4 separate regions of the Homo sapiens genome follow, and regions 1, 3 and 4 are each linked to region 2. The links are contacts of gene promoters, found by promoter capture Hi-C in blood cells and fetal thymus (Javierre and others, 2016). All regions are on one chromosome and are shown on one strand. The core of a region is centred on a gene start or on the middle of the fragment in contact, and the rest is flanking DNA. Distances in the headings are between cores, read along the strand shown.

The links. The method cuts DNA at HindIII sites, captures the fragments that hold promoters and counts their contacts. A CHiCAGO score of 5 or more calls a contact.
Region 1: a contact is called between a fragment that was not itself captured here and the fragment with the promoter of MRPL46 in region 2, in 8 of 17 cell types (activated CD4 T cells, total CD4 T cells, naive CD4 T cells and 5 more). The highest score is 10.3, in activated CD4 T cells.
Region 3: a contact is called between a fragment that was not itself captured here and the fragment with the promoter of MRPL46 in region 2, in 8 of 17 cell types (activated CD4 T cells, naive CD4 T cells, non-activated CD4 T cells and 5 more). The highest score is 11.5, in activated CD4 T cells.
Region 4: a fragment that was not itself captured here is called in contact with the fragment with the promoter of MRPL46 in region 2 in 2 of 17 cell types (activated CD4 T cells and naive CD4 T cells); the score reaches 5.6 in activated CD4 T cells.

Annotation. Positions count from the first base shown.
Region 1 is chr15:88,671,220-88,674,137 of GRCh38, forward strand. No RefSeq gene overlaps it. Among named protein-coding and RNA genes, the nearest start is that of ISG20, 34 kb to the left of the region's middle. The HindIII fragment of the contact is 5,777 bases long and covers 1-2,918 here.
Region 2 is chr15:88,465,964-88,468,726 of GRCh38, forward strand. It overlaps MRPL46 (mitochondrial ribosomal protein L46), which reads right to left and starts at 1,425. Exons shown (of 4, transcript NM_022163.4): 1 at 1,187-1,425. The coding sequence starts at 1,414. MRPS11 (mitochondrial ribosomal protein S11) reads left to right here and starts at 1,745. Exons shown (of 6, transcript NM_022839.5): 1 at 1,745-1,819; 2 at 1,945-2,061. The coding sequence starts at 1,755. RefSeq lists enhancers at 1-959, 1,426-1,595. The HindIII fragment of the contact is 6,788 bases long and covers 1-2,763 here.
Region 3 is chr15:88,652,423-88,655,312 of GRCh38, forward strand. The region is part of intron 3 of ISG20 (interferon stimulated exonuclease gene 20); the gene reads left to right. Among named protein-coding and RNA genes, the nearest start is that of ISG20, 15 kb to the left of the region's middle. The HindIII fragment of the contact is 2,269 bases long and covers 395-2,663 here.
Region 4 is chr15:88,688,208-88,691,197 of GRCh38, forward strand. No RefSeq gene overlaps it. Among named protein-coding and RNA genes, the nearest start is that of ISG20, 51 kb to the left of the region's middle. The HindIII fragment of the contact is 1,174 bases long and covers 1,142-2,315 here.

The DNA.
Region 1 (2,918 bases), core at 28-2,527, 210 kb after region 2:
AAGCAATCAAAAAAGTGAAGAGGCAACCCACAGAATGAGAAAAAATACTTGCAAACTATCCATCTGACAAGGGATTATTAACCAGAATATATAAGGAATCAAACAACTCTATAGGAAAAAAAATCTAATAATATGATTTTAAAATGGGCAAAAGAGCTGAATAGGCATCTCTCAAAAGAAGACATCCAAATGGCAAACAGGTATACGAAAAGGTGCTCATTATCATTGACCATCAGAGAAATGCAAATCAAAACTACAATGAGATATCATCTCACCACAGTTAAAATGGCTTTTATTTAAAAGACAGGTAATAACAAATGCTGGCAAGGATGTGGAGAAAGGGGAACCTTTGTACACTGTTGTTGGAATGTAAATTAGTACAACCACTATGTAGAACCATTTGGAGATTCTTTTAAAAAACTAAAAATAGAACTATGAGATGATCCAGCAATCTCACTGCTAGGTATATACCCAAAAGAAAGGAAAGCAATATATTGAAGAGATAGTCACGCTTCCATGTTTATTGCAGCACTATTCACAACAGCCAAGATTTGGAAGCAACCTAAATGTCCATCAACAGACAAATGGAAAAAGAAAATGTGGTACATATACACAATAGAGTACTATTCAGTCATCAAAAGAATGAGATCCTCTCATTTGCAACAACATGGATGGAACTGGAGGCCATTATGTTAAGTGAAATAAGTGAGGTACGGAAAGACAAATTCCACTTATTTTCATGTCCTCACTTATTTGTGGGAGTTAAAAATTAAAACAACCAAACTCATGAGAGATAGAGAGTAGAAGGTTGGTTACCAGAGGCTGGGAAGTGTTGTGGGGAGTGGGGAGGAAGGAAAGATGGTTGACGGGTATAAAAATATAGTTAGATAGGATGAATAGTATTTGATAGTACAACAGAGTGGCTACAGTCAACAATAATTTATTGTACATTTTAAAATAAGTAAAAGAGTATAACTGGATTGTTTGCAACACAAAGGATAAATGCTTGAGGTGGCAGATACCCCATTACCCTGACATGCATTGTGTGCCTGTATCAAAATATCCCATGTACCCCATAAAAATATATGCCTACTATGTACCCACAGAAATTAAAAACAAAAAAGAAAATGGGACAGAACAGATAAGAAAACTAGAGGCTTCACTTAGAAATTTAATATCTGATGAATAGGAATTCTAGAAAGAGAAGAGAGAAAACAGGGAGGAGGAAAATTTATCAGAACAGAAGTGTATGGATCATCTAAGACAAAGGGCTCCCTAGAGGCTCAACAAGATGACTAAAGGAAGACCCACACCAAGGGACATCACTATGGAAATTAAGTCACTGAGGATAAAAGGAAGACCCTAGAAGCCTCCAGAGAAGAGTAATGGGGCATGCACTAAGGTCCAGGAGTCAGAAAGGCACCAGACTTCTTTAGAAGACCGAAGACAGTGATGTAATGCCTCAAACTTCTGAGGGAAAGTGATTTCTTTTTTTAAACAAAATTATTTTTACATCATCAAAAAGCATCAAGTGAGGAACATAACTTGTAACCTAAAATTCTATACCCAAGCAAAGTACAGATCAAATATGAAAACAAAATAAAGTGATGCTTTAAGAAATCTACACCTTCAAGTACTTATCTTCCACATCTCTTTTTAAAGAAGCTATTGGAAGATATGCTCCACCCAAATGGAGGAGGAAACTGAAAAAGAGGAACTCCAGTAGAAGAGAAAGGTGTAAGATATTCCCGGGAAGATGAGGATAGGATGTCTCCAGATGACAGCGGTGTATTGAGCCCAGAGAGGAGCCAACCTAGAGTGCAGAGGGGGGTCCTGAATATCTGTCAATAACAAAAGGGAATCATACCAAAAGGAGGTTCTATTAGTTTGAGATGAGTTAATACTAGGCACATAGAAAACTAAGTTAAAAAGAGAGACAATTACTAGTGCCAAGAATGAGAAAATGTACAAAAGTAGTAGGTATGTTGCCCTTTTGTCATAATTTACATAATAATAACAATAGAAGCATTGAATATTGATTTAATTCCCCCAAATCATGAGGTAACTATTTTGGAAGGGTCAGGAGAGATGTGTGTTATATCTTCTTCTTGTTCTTTTTTTTTTTTTTTTTTTTGAGGTGGAGTTTCGCTCTTGTTGCCCAGGCTGGAGTACAATGGCGCTATCTTGGCTCATTGCAACCTCCGCCTCCCCAGTTCAAGCGATTCTCCTGCCTCAGCCTCCTAAGTAGCTGAGATTACAGGCACCCGCCACCACACCTGGCTAATTTATATATTTTTAGTACAGATGGGATTTCACCATGTTAGCCAGGCTGGTCTCAAACTCCTGACGTCAGGTGTTTGTTTTTTTTGAGACTGAGTTTTGCTTTTTGGCCCAGGCTGGAGTGAAGTGGTGTGATCTTGGCTCACTGCAACCTCCGCCCCCTAGGTTCAAGTGATTCTCCTGCCTCAGCCTCCTGAGTAGCTGGGACTACAGGCGCACACCACCATGACCAGCTAATTTTTGTATTTTTAATAGAGACAGGGTTTCACCATGTTGGCCGGGCTGGTCTTGAACTCCTGACCTCAGATGATCCACCCACCTTGGTCTCCCAAAGTGCTAGGATTACAGGTGTGAGCCACCTCGCCCGGCCATATCTTCATATTTCATAGGAAGAAGTCAGTACGTAATATTCCAAATAGGATGGCAAAGAAATATCAACATACGGGTACTGTTTAGAAATTAGAACTAACTACAGGAAGAAAAAGCTAAATGGTTGGAAAATGCTTACCTTTGGGTAGCAGTTATGTGTGATGTGGAGCATTTGGCCAGGAGGCCACTGTTTTTTATTATAATCTTTGTGATATTTAATTTTTAGAAGAATTATTTAGGTATTATTTTTATAGAAAAATCAAATCAAA
Region 2 (2,763 bases), core at 175-2,674:
GGGCTTGAGTTACATTTGCCAAAAATGTTACAATGTCACTGGGGGTCAAGAGTGCTACAAAAACAGAGAGCTGGGTTGGGCAATGCCTGCTGACTCACCACAATCCAGTCATGTCAGTCTTTGATCAGAATCTCACTCACCAAGGACTTTCCTGTTCAGGGACTTTCAAGAGGTTGTTCCTTCTTCCTAGAATGTTTTTCCTCACATTCTTTCTTCTGGGAGAGTCCTACTCATCTTTCTGATTTCAATTTAAATATGACTGTCTCAGAGAGACATTTCTCATAAAGAGAAAAACCTGTATTCAGAAAGTCTGAGGCATTCCTTGACACTCACCATAAAATCAAAATGTGATGTATTTGTTAAACACTCTTATAGTGCCTTGTGTTTTCCTTAACAACACTTATCAGGGTCTGCATTTAGTTGTATGATTATTTGGTTACTGACTGATCCCCTCACTCAACTAGACTGAAGTACTCTGAGAACCAGAGCTACTTCTGCCTTATTCATTACAGCATCTCTATCACTTAACATACTCTCTGATGCATAGTATGGGCACAATGAACATCTGTAGGTTGAGTAACAAATATTTGTCAAGCGAGCGAGTAAATGAATAAATCAAGCAAAAAGCACAGAAGAGAAGTTTATAGTTCTCAACAGACCAAGACAAAAACATCTCGGATTCTGAGGAAACATATCACCCTTCAAACACTTTCTGTAGCGACCTCACACCTTCACAGCCACTACACTGTTTTTGCCCATGCTTCCTCACTTGCCCCTCACACAGATAGCCCCATGAGATAAAACAGAGTAGGCTTATCATAGGCATCTGACAGATGTGCCCACCGCCTCTTGTATTTCCTTCTTAACATTCATCACATCACAAAGACTTTCTCCCTCCAGACTTGTAAGCTCCTAGTGACACGGACCGATTCTTGTTCACCACAGGATCCCTATTGTGTTGCATGAACAAGAAGTAGAGTATCTCCAAAGAGTTGTCTAAGGTGACAATAAACACGGCCAATGAAAAGAAACCACTTTTTGTTGAACATCTATGTACCAAACCAAGTCAGTAAGGTAGGTACCATTCTGCGGATAAGTACCGTATACTTAAGTTCAGAGAGGTGAAATTACTCGCTCAAAGTCACGCAGAATAAACGTCACTCTGAACCCTGCATCTCAGTCCCACCTGCTGCAGTAGAGACGCCATCTCTTCCTGCAATGGGGTCAACGGCTTGGAGACTACAGGTGGCCGCTGCAGGCACAACGCGCCCAACAAGCGCCATGGGGATCCGTTGCTTGAGGGTGCGGCTGCAAGAGCCAGGCTGCGAGAGCTTAGACTGCCGGCCCAGAGCCTCTCGAACCGCCGCCAACCCCCCGCCACCCCTAACAGCGTCCGCCTTACGGGCGCCGCCATCTTTCGTTCTCCCACAATGCACCGCGGCTCCCAGGGATCCCTCAGCCGCGGGAGCGGCAAACTAGGGGAAAGCTCAGTCCCGGAACTGCTAGAACGAACCATTCGCATATGGAGGGGGTGACCCACCATCTCAGAACATTAAAAAAGGGAAAGAATCCCCTGGTGAACTACAGTGAAAGTCTTATTGAGCATTTAAATGGAAATAAAAATATTCAGTGGACCTAATGAAGAGTAGATGACTTTCCCTTCTGTCCCCTCCCCGACAGGCACTCATGGTACCGGCGCCGGCGCAGCTGTGACTGTCGCTGCAGACGGAAACTGACTGGGGTCAATTCAAGTCATGCAGGCTGTGAGAAACGCGGGGTCGCGGTTCCTGCGGTCCTGGACTTGGCCCCAGACAGCCGGGTAACAAATGACTGCCCCCTCGAGCCCACCGCCACCTCCAGGACTATGCTCCTACTCGTGTCCCTTGAGCCACCCGGGCCCCAGTGACCGTTAGGCCGTGGCCCTCACCGAGCTTTTCTTCCCAGCAGGGTCGTGGCCAGAACGCCGGCCGGGACCATCTGCACAGGCGCTCGACAGCTCCAAGACGCTGCGGCCAAGCAGAAAGTTGAACAGAACGCGGCTCCCAGCCACACCAAGTTCAGGTGAGCCCCACTTGGACCAGCCCTCTGGAGACCCGCAACCCCTGACTCTTGCCCGACACCCTCCAGAGTCAGAACCAGTGAATTTTCAGCTATGTCACTTGCTATCCGTGGGACCTTATGCAAATAAATCTGAGCCTCAGCCTTCTCATCTAAAAATGCGGATAATGCTGAGAGAGGTTGTGAGAATCAGATGAGCCGTGGTACAGAGTAAATGTTCAGTGAACATTCGTTAAATCAATGAGTGAATGTGAGATATCCATAACATGTATCAGCGTTCTTTTCTTCTGAGATGGAGATCTTTTCAGACCAATAACCTTCCCTGCCTCCAAAACAAAATGGGGAGGTAGAGGGCGCTAGCGATGGAACAGATGTTCCTGCACGTCTTACGGATGGTCCAGGGTGGGTTTTGTGCTCAGCCCTAGGAACTGGCATCTTGCTTCCCACCAGTGCCACCACCTCTGTATGCTGTATACACATCCACTTAACTTCACATCCATTTAACAAACATTTACCAAGAATCTACTATGAGTGAGACACCATGCTAGGTGCCGTGAATACAGATACAAAAGATCATTCCTCCCCACAAGTAGTTCACAGTCTTTGAGGGAAGACAAACATGCAAACATTTTAACCATAATCTGCTCAATAATATAATGGAGGTAAGCATTGGTTGGAAGTATGAAATCATAAGTGTCTAACTCC
Region 3 (2,890 bases), core at 279-2,778, 190 kb after region 2:
CCCTCCTCCTTCTCCTCCTCCTTCTCCTCCCTCCTCCCCCTCCTCCTCCCCCTCCTCCTCCCCCTCCTCCTTCCCCTCCTCCTTCCCCTCCTCCTTCCCCTCCTCCCCCTTCCCCTCCCCCTTTGCCCTCCTCCCCTTCCTCCTCCCCCTCCCCCTCCCCCACCTCCTCGCTCTTCTCCCCTTCTTCCCCTTCCTCCTCCCCTGTCCCCTCCCTTTCCTCCTCCTCCCTCATGCCCTCGCACACCTCAGGGCAGCTTGCCTGAGGCATTGATGGTAGGTCCTGCTGTGCCTGGTCCCTGGCTGGTAGAGTGAGGATGAGGGCAGGGAAGGGAAAACACCCAACAAAGGTTTGCTTTTGTTGTTGAAATCAAGCCAGTTACCCTGTGGGAAGTGAAGCTTGCTCCCACCATAGAACTCTGGGCAATGATGTAAAGCACACACCTCACCTCAGATATGTCTCACAGCAGGGGCCGGGGAACTGGGATATTTGTACACCAGTTCCCATCAGCCACCAGCTGCTGCTGCTCCTGGGCACTGATTCCGCAGCACTTCTGGCTGGTGGGCAAAGCAGGCAGGAAAAGGCATACGGATATGGGGGGTTGGGAGTTCACCCTGTGGGAAGGGCAGAGGGAGAGGCGCCAGACACTAAGAGCCAGGGCTGTACACAGGGACCCTTCAGGTCAACAGCTCTTTATTAAACACCTGCTGCCTGCTCTAGGCCAGATCCTAGAGACGCAGGGTGAGCAAGACCCGTCTCTGTCCCTGAGCTCTTGGTTGGTTGGGAGGTGGCCCTTAACCAGATCATCAGCACACATGGTAAGGAGTGTGTGACGGAGGGAAGGGCAGTGCCCTGGGAGCAGGATGAAGGATGGGGCTGGCAGGGCAGGAGACCAGATCTGAACAGAGCCTGGAGGGTCTTAGTCAAGGAGGGCAGAAGAAGGCATACAGAGTGGGGCCAGGTGAGTCAAAGCCTGAGGCTCGGGGAGGGGCTGGGGAGCACGGAGCCCGCCCCTAGCCTGCTGGCAAGAGCTGTAGGAATCATGTCCGGAGTAGGGAACAGGGCTGAGTCTGGGCCTGTTAGCCTCAAGGCACATAAGGCACATAAGGGCCAGGCTGGGCTTTTCCTGGAGCCCTTGCCGCTCTGTGGCTCTCAGTCTGGGGCCTTAAGCCTGACCCAGGGCCTTCTCCCAGGCTCTGTCCCTGGGCTCATTAAGCCTGGTTGTTCCAGAAGCTCAGTACCCCACCAGGCAGCTCCTGCCTGCACTGATGCCCCTAGAAACCAGCCCTCCCGCCCGCCCCCGCTCACATGGACAGTGGTGCTACTGATCACTGTGACCAGAACTGACCCACAGGACACAAGGAGCTAACATGGTAGAGCTGTCACAGTTGGGCAGTGGTGTTACTGCCCCTCGAGGGAGTGAAATAGCAGGCCTGTGGCTCCCTGCCAAGCTGCGCGCATGGTAGACTGGGCTGCACAGGAAAGGAAAGACCCTGCCATTTATGAAGCCCTGTGGAGGGTGCTGGGCACAGTTCTCTCATTCCATCCTTTAAGGCAGGTATAATCAGGCCCATTTCACAGAAGAGGAAACAGAGGCCCAGAGAGGAAAAGTGACTTGCCCACGGTCACAGAGCTCATAAGCAGGGGAGCTGGGAATTGCAGCCTGGGGTTTGTCTGATTCCAAATCCGGGGCTCTTTACCTCCCCACTTGGTAATAAAGGGTGCTGGTGCTGCATTCTGCTTCTGTTCTTGGCTTCCTTCTCCATAGAGCAGAGTGGTAGAACACATAACCTCCCTGTGCCTCAGTTTCCTCATCTGTCAAGGATGGTGACAGGGGCAGGTATGCAGAGGCACAGCGCAGACGACGCCACCATGCTACCTGCTTGCTGATTAATGATAGGGTGTCCAAGCCAAAAAATAAAACTAAACATTAAAAAATAAAACAATACAGCGTAATAACGGCAACAAGAAAAAGCCTTTTTGAGCTGGGCCGTCTAACCAGGTGTCCCCAACACCCTGTCTGGAGTGCCTGGAAAAGGAGCCCCTGTGAGAACAGGAAGTCCTCTCTCGACAGAGGGACACCAAGAAAACGCAGCCAGGTCCAACAGCCCGCTGGCTCCCATGCTGGGTACCGGCCAGGACACCAGGGCTGAGCGGGGCATGCGAAGGGAGATGAAAGGTGACTGCACTGAGGATTTGCCCTGTGTACTCGCCTCTGCAAGATCCACATCTCAGCTGCACAACTGGCTGGCTTGTGTGTGAGCCTCAGTTTTATCATCAGTAAAATGGGGGAATAATCATATCCAGCTCAGAGGTTTAACTTCAGCCTAGTGCACGGAAGACATGGTAAATGGTCATCGCTTCTCCCTTGAATGGACCGAGGGCCCCCGACTCCCATAGCACTACCCCATAAAGTCTAGGCTCCCGACTTCGGCATTCAAGGCCTTCAGTGATAAATCCAGGCCCACCATCCGTCCCCACACCACCTTTCACACACCCCCTGCCCCCACCCTCGCAGGCCTCTTATTTTAGCTGCACATGCTCTCCCTGCCTCCGAAATGCTTGCGGCCTTTCCTTTCCATTTATTGACGCCCTTGTGTTCTCTCTGAGCAGCCCTTCCCTGTGTCCCTAGCTGGAGTTCCTCACTCCCTCCTCAGTGTCCTGAAGCTTCTTGTTAGAGCTGCTGCAGCCACTGCGTGTGTCTGACAGCAAGTCTGCAGCCTCTGCCTCCCTTGCGGGACTGCAGGTGACTTGAAGGCACAGCCTGGTTCCCAGGAGGCTGGCTTTCGTGCCACTGGCCCCAGGGCTGAAGGCAGGCCAGCTCCAGCCACCTGCTGAGTCTCCTAAGTCCAGAGTGTCAGAGACCTCAAGAGACTCTCACCCACTGACCCA
Region 4 (2,990 bases), core at 479-2,978, 220 kb after region 2:
TTGAGATCCTTAACATATGACATCTGCAAAGACGTTAATAAGGCCACATTCTGAGTTTCTCAGTAGACGTGAATTTTGGGGGCACACTCTTCAACCCACTATAGTTTCCCCTTTCAAATCTGTTTTTTTTTCGTGGTGTCTTATTCTAGTATGTTTAATCATATTAAGTTTTTTTTTGGCTTTGGTTTTGCTGTCTCTCAGAGATTGGCGTTCTGTTCATTGGAGGTCTTCAGCTCTCGTCCCTCTGACCCTCACTCAGTGGACCGCTTCCTCATGGGTAGTGTCATTCAGTTTTAGCAGGACTCCTCTTTCCCATGAGAATTCCTTGCTGCCTGGGTTTTTGGAGCAACCATCCAGAGTACGTTTGCATCTCCTCCTATTACAGGGCACTCCAGTCCAATCACCTGTTGGGTACTCATTTTGTTAGTTGCCGGGTCCATCTCGCAGATCCTGGCCGAGCAACAGATGAAAGGAGTACTCAGACACAGGTATGCAGTGTAAGAGCAGCTAGGGGACGGCCAAAGAGTGAGCAGTCCTGATAAGCTGGAGCTGCTTGCTTTTATTCAGTATAGATATAATGCCAAAGCCTGGAGCCAACACAATCTTATGTTAATGTGGGTAATTAATATTATTGTTTCCCCTTATAGGGAGCAGTCACACACAGATGATCAAAAGTGAGTTTCTAGACAACATGAGTAAACAAGCCTATTTAGATAAATTCCCCCACTCCCTTGTACCTACTCCTCGCCCTCTGCCTCAGGGTAAGAGAACAGCTGCCTTCAGCTTCTTCTCCCCTGAAACTTTGCAGAACCTTCCGACCTTTCAGAAGTCCTGCTCCTTTCCCTATAGCTTCTTCTACCACTCTATCCACTCCTCCACATCAGGCTGGGGATTGTTGGACCTTAGATTTTATGTACATTTTGAAAGAGCAGTCCTAGGATTTTGATTTCTCCTGTGGAGACTTGCTTTTTTTTTTTTTTAATCCAAAGATCATGTGAGGATGAATATGCAGCCCTGTCGTCTCCTATTGCTGATAGGCGGGATTTTTCCTTATCTAGCTTTGCTCTGAGGCTGCAGACTCCTGTGGTCCTGGCTTTACAGAAGTGTCTCTGGTCCAGCTTCTTGCCTCATGCCATCCTGAAGCTTCATTTCCTGACCCATGTGGCCATAAAGACCTCACCTCTAGAATGCCAGGCTCAGTTCTCCCTTCTACGTCTTACCCAAGCATCAGTAACATCAACTCTGCCATTTATGATCTATGGGATCCTTGAGTAAATCATTTAATCCAAAAGCTCCTTCTCCTCTTTTTTGCCTTGTTAACTCTAACTTTTCCTTTAAGGTGATAACTCCAATATCACCTCCTTCAGGAAGCCTTCCCAGATTCCACCAGCTCCATCTCCCATGGCTTCCAGACTCACACTTCTGATCCTTCACCCTACTGTGGAGTGGCATGGTGTGGCCAGGACACCACAAGCTCCTCGATCTTCCCAAGAATAACAGTGAGGCAAAGAGAAAGGGAGGTAATGAAGGAGCAGCAGATAGGGCCAGCTTGGAGGGCCTGAATGCCAGGGAAGAAGTCAAATTTTTGCTGTCGGTGATGCTACTTCATTGAAGTTATTTAAGATTGGGATGTGGAGGGTCATTCCATCAGATGTCCACTTTTGAACTGTTATTCTGCCTGCTGGAAAACAGGAAAACAGCCAAGAAGCTGGGTGGCCAGTTTGGGGGTAATTTTACAGTCCAGGTGTGTGATGGTGGGCCTTGAGCAATGGCAGCTTGGGGATGGAGGGTGGGGGCAGATTTGTGAAATACTCAGGGAGCAAACATCCAAAAGTCTTGATGGTGTGGAGGGGCCAAGAATGCCAGACATTCGAACCTCCCAAGAGCAACTGCAGCCTTACTTCTCTCTCCTGCTCCCTTAACCATCCTCAGGGCCCCTCCTGGGTGCTCCCAGCACCCTCAGAGCACCAATACACCGAGTGTTTTGGGTAGGAAGTCTAAGAAAGGCTACACAAGCTGAGGCTTCAGAGAGGAGGACTTGGCTCCTGCCTCTGTGGTCTCCTGGAGGGGCCTCCTCGAATAAATGTATTCATCCTTCTCCTACCTGTGCCTGGGTGCTTGGCTTGTATGTTTCAAGATGGTTTGAATTTTTTCAAAAAATTAAAATTCTCTGACAGGCGAGCCAATCCCGGTGAATGACCACACAGTGAAAGGTGACAAGGGCTTCTTTCACGGGCCCCAGCTGCACTGAGCAGGCTGGGCGGCTGGAGGGAGCTCTCCATGAATCAGCCTATGTTAGAAGGTCAGTCTCTTGAAGCTTTGCTCTGCCCCAGGGCGTCTGATTGAACAGAGGCAGCAGCATATATGATGACACGTGGCAGGGGAATCTGTGTTGTCTTGAGTGACAGACTCTCCCTTCCGTGATTACTGATTTAAGTTATACATTCAACCAACTCTGTTGTGTCCATGTTCTGCCAGGGACTGTTCTAGCCCTAGAGACCCAGTGGTGAGAGCAGAAACCAGGTGCCAGATGACAAATACATCAACAAGCACCATAACAAGGTAACTGTGGGTGGTGATAAGCACTACAAGCGAAACAAAACAGGGTCTTGGGATGGACAGTGGTGGGAGGATGTTACTTTGGGAAGGGTCCCTCTGTAGAGGTGACATTTCAGCTGAGAGCAGAAGGGCGAGAAAGAGGTGGCCATTTCCCAAGCAGAAGGAACAGCTTGTGCAAAAGCTTTGAGGAGGGAACAAGCTGGCCACGCAGAAGAGAGCTGTGGGATTCGGAGAGCTAAGTGTGTCCATGGAAACAATGAGCATCGGCGATCGAATGCGACAGGAAGTGAGTGAGCCCAATACGTGTGGCTCCATGGTTCCCCAGTGATAGGCAACCAAGACAGCAAAAGGTCTGGAGATGGAGGCAAATTTGAGGTATGAACTGAGGGAGGCTTTATTTATTCATTGATTAAACAACCATTTACCAAGTG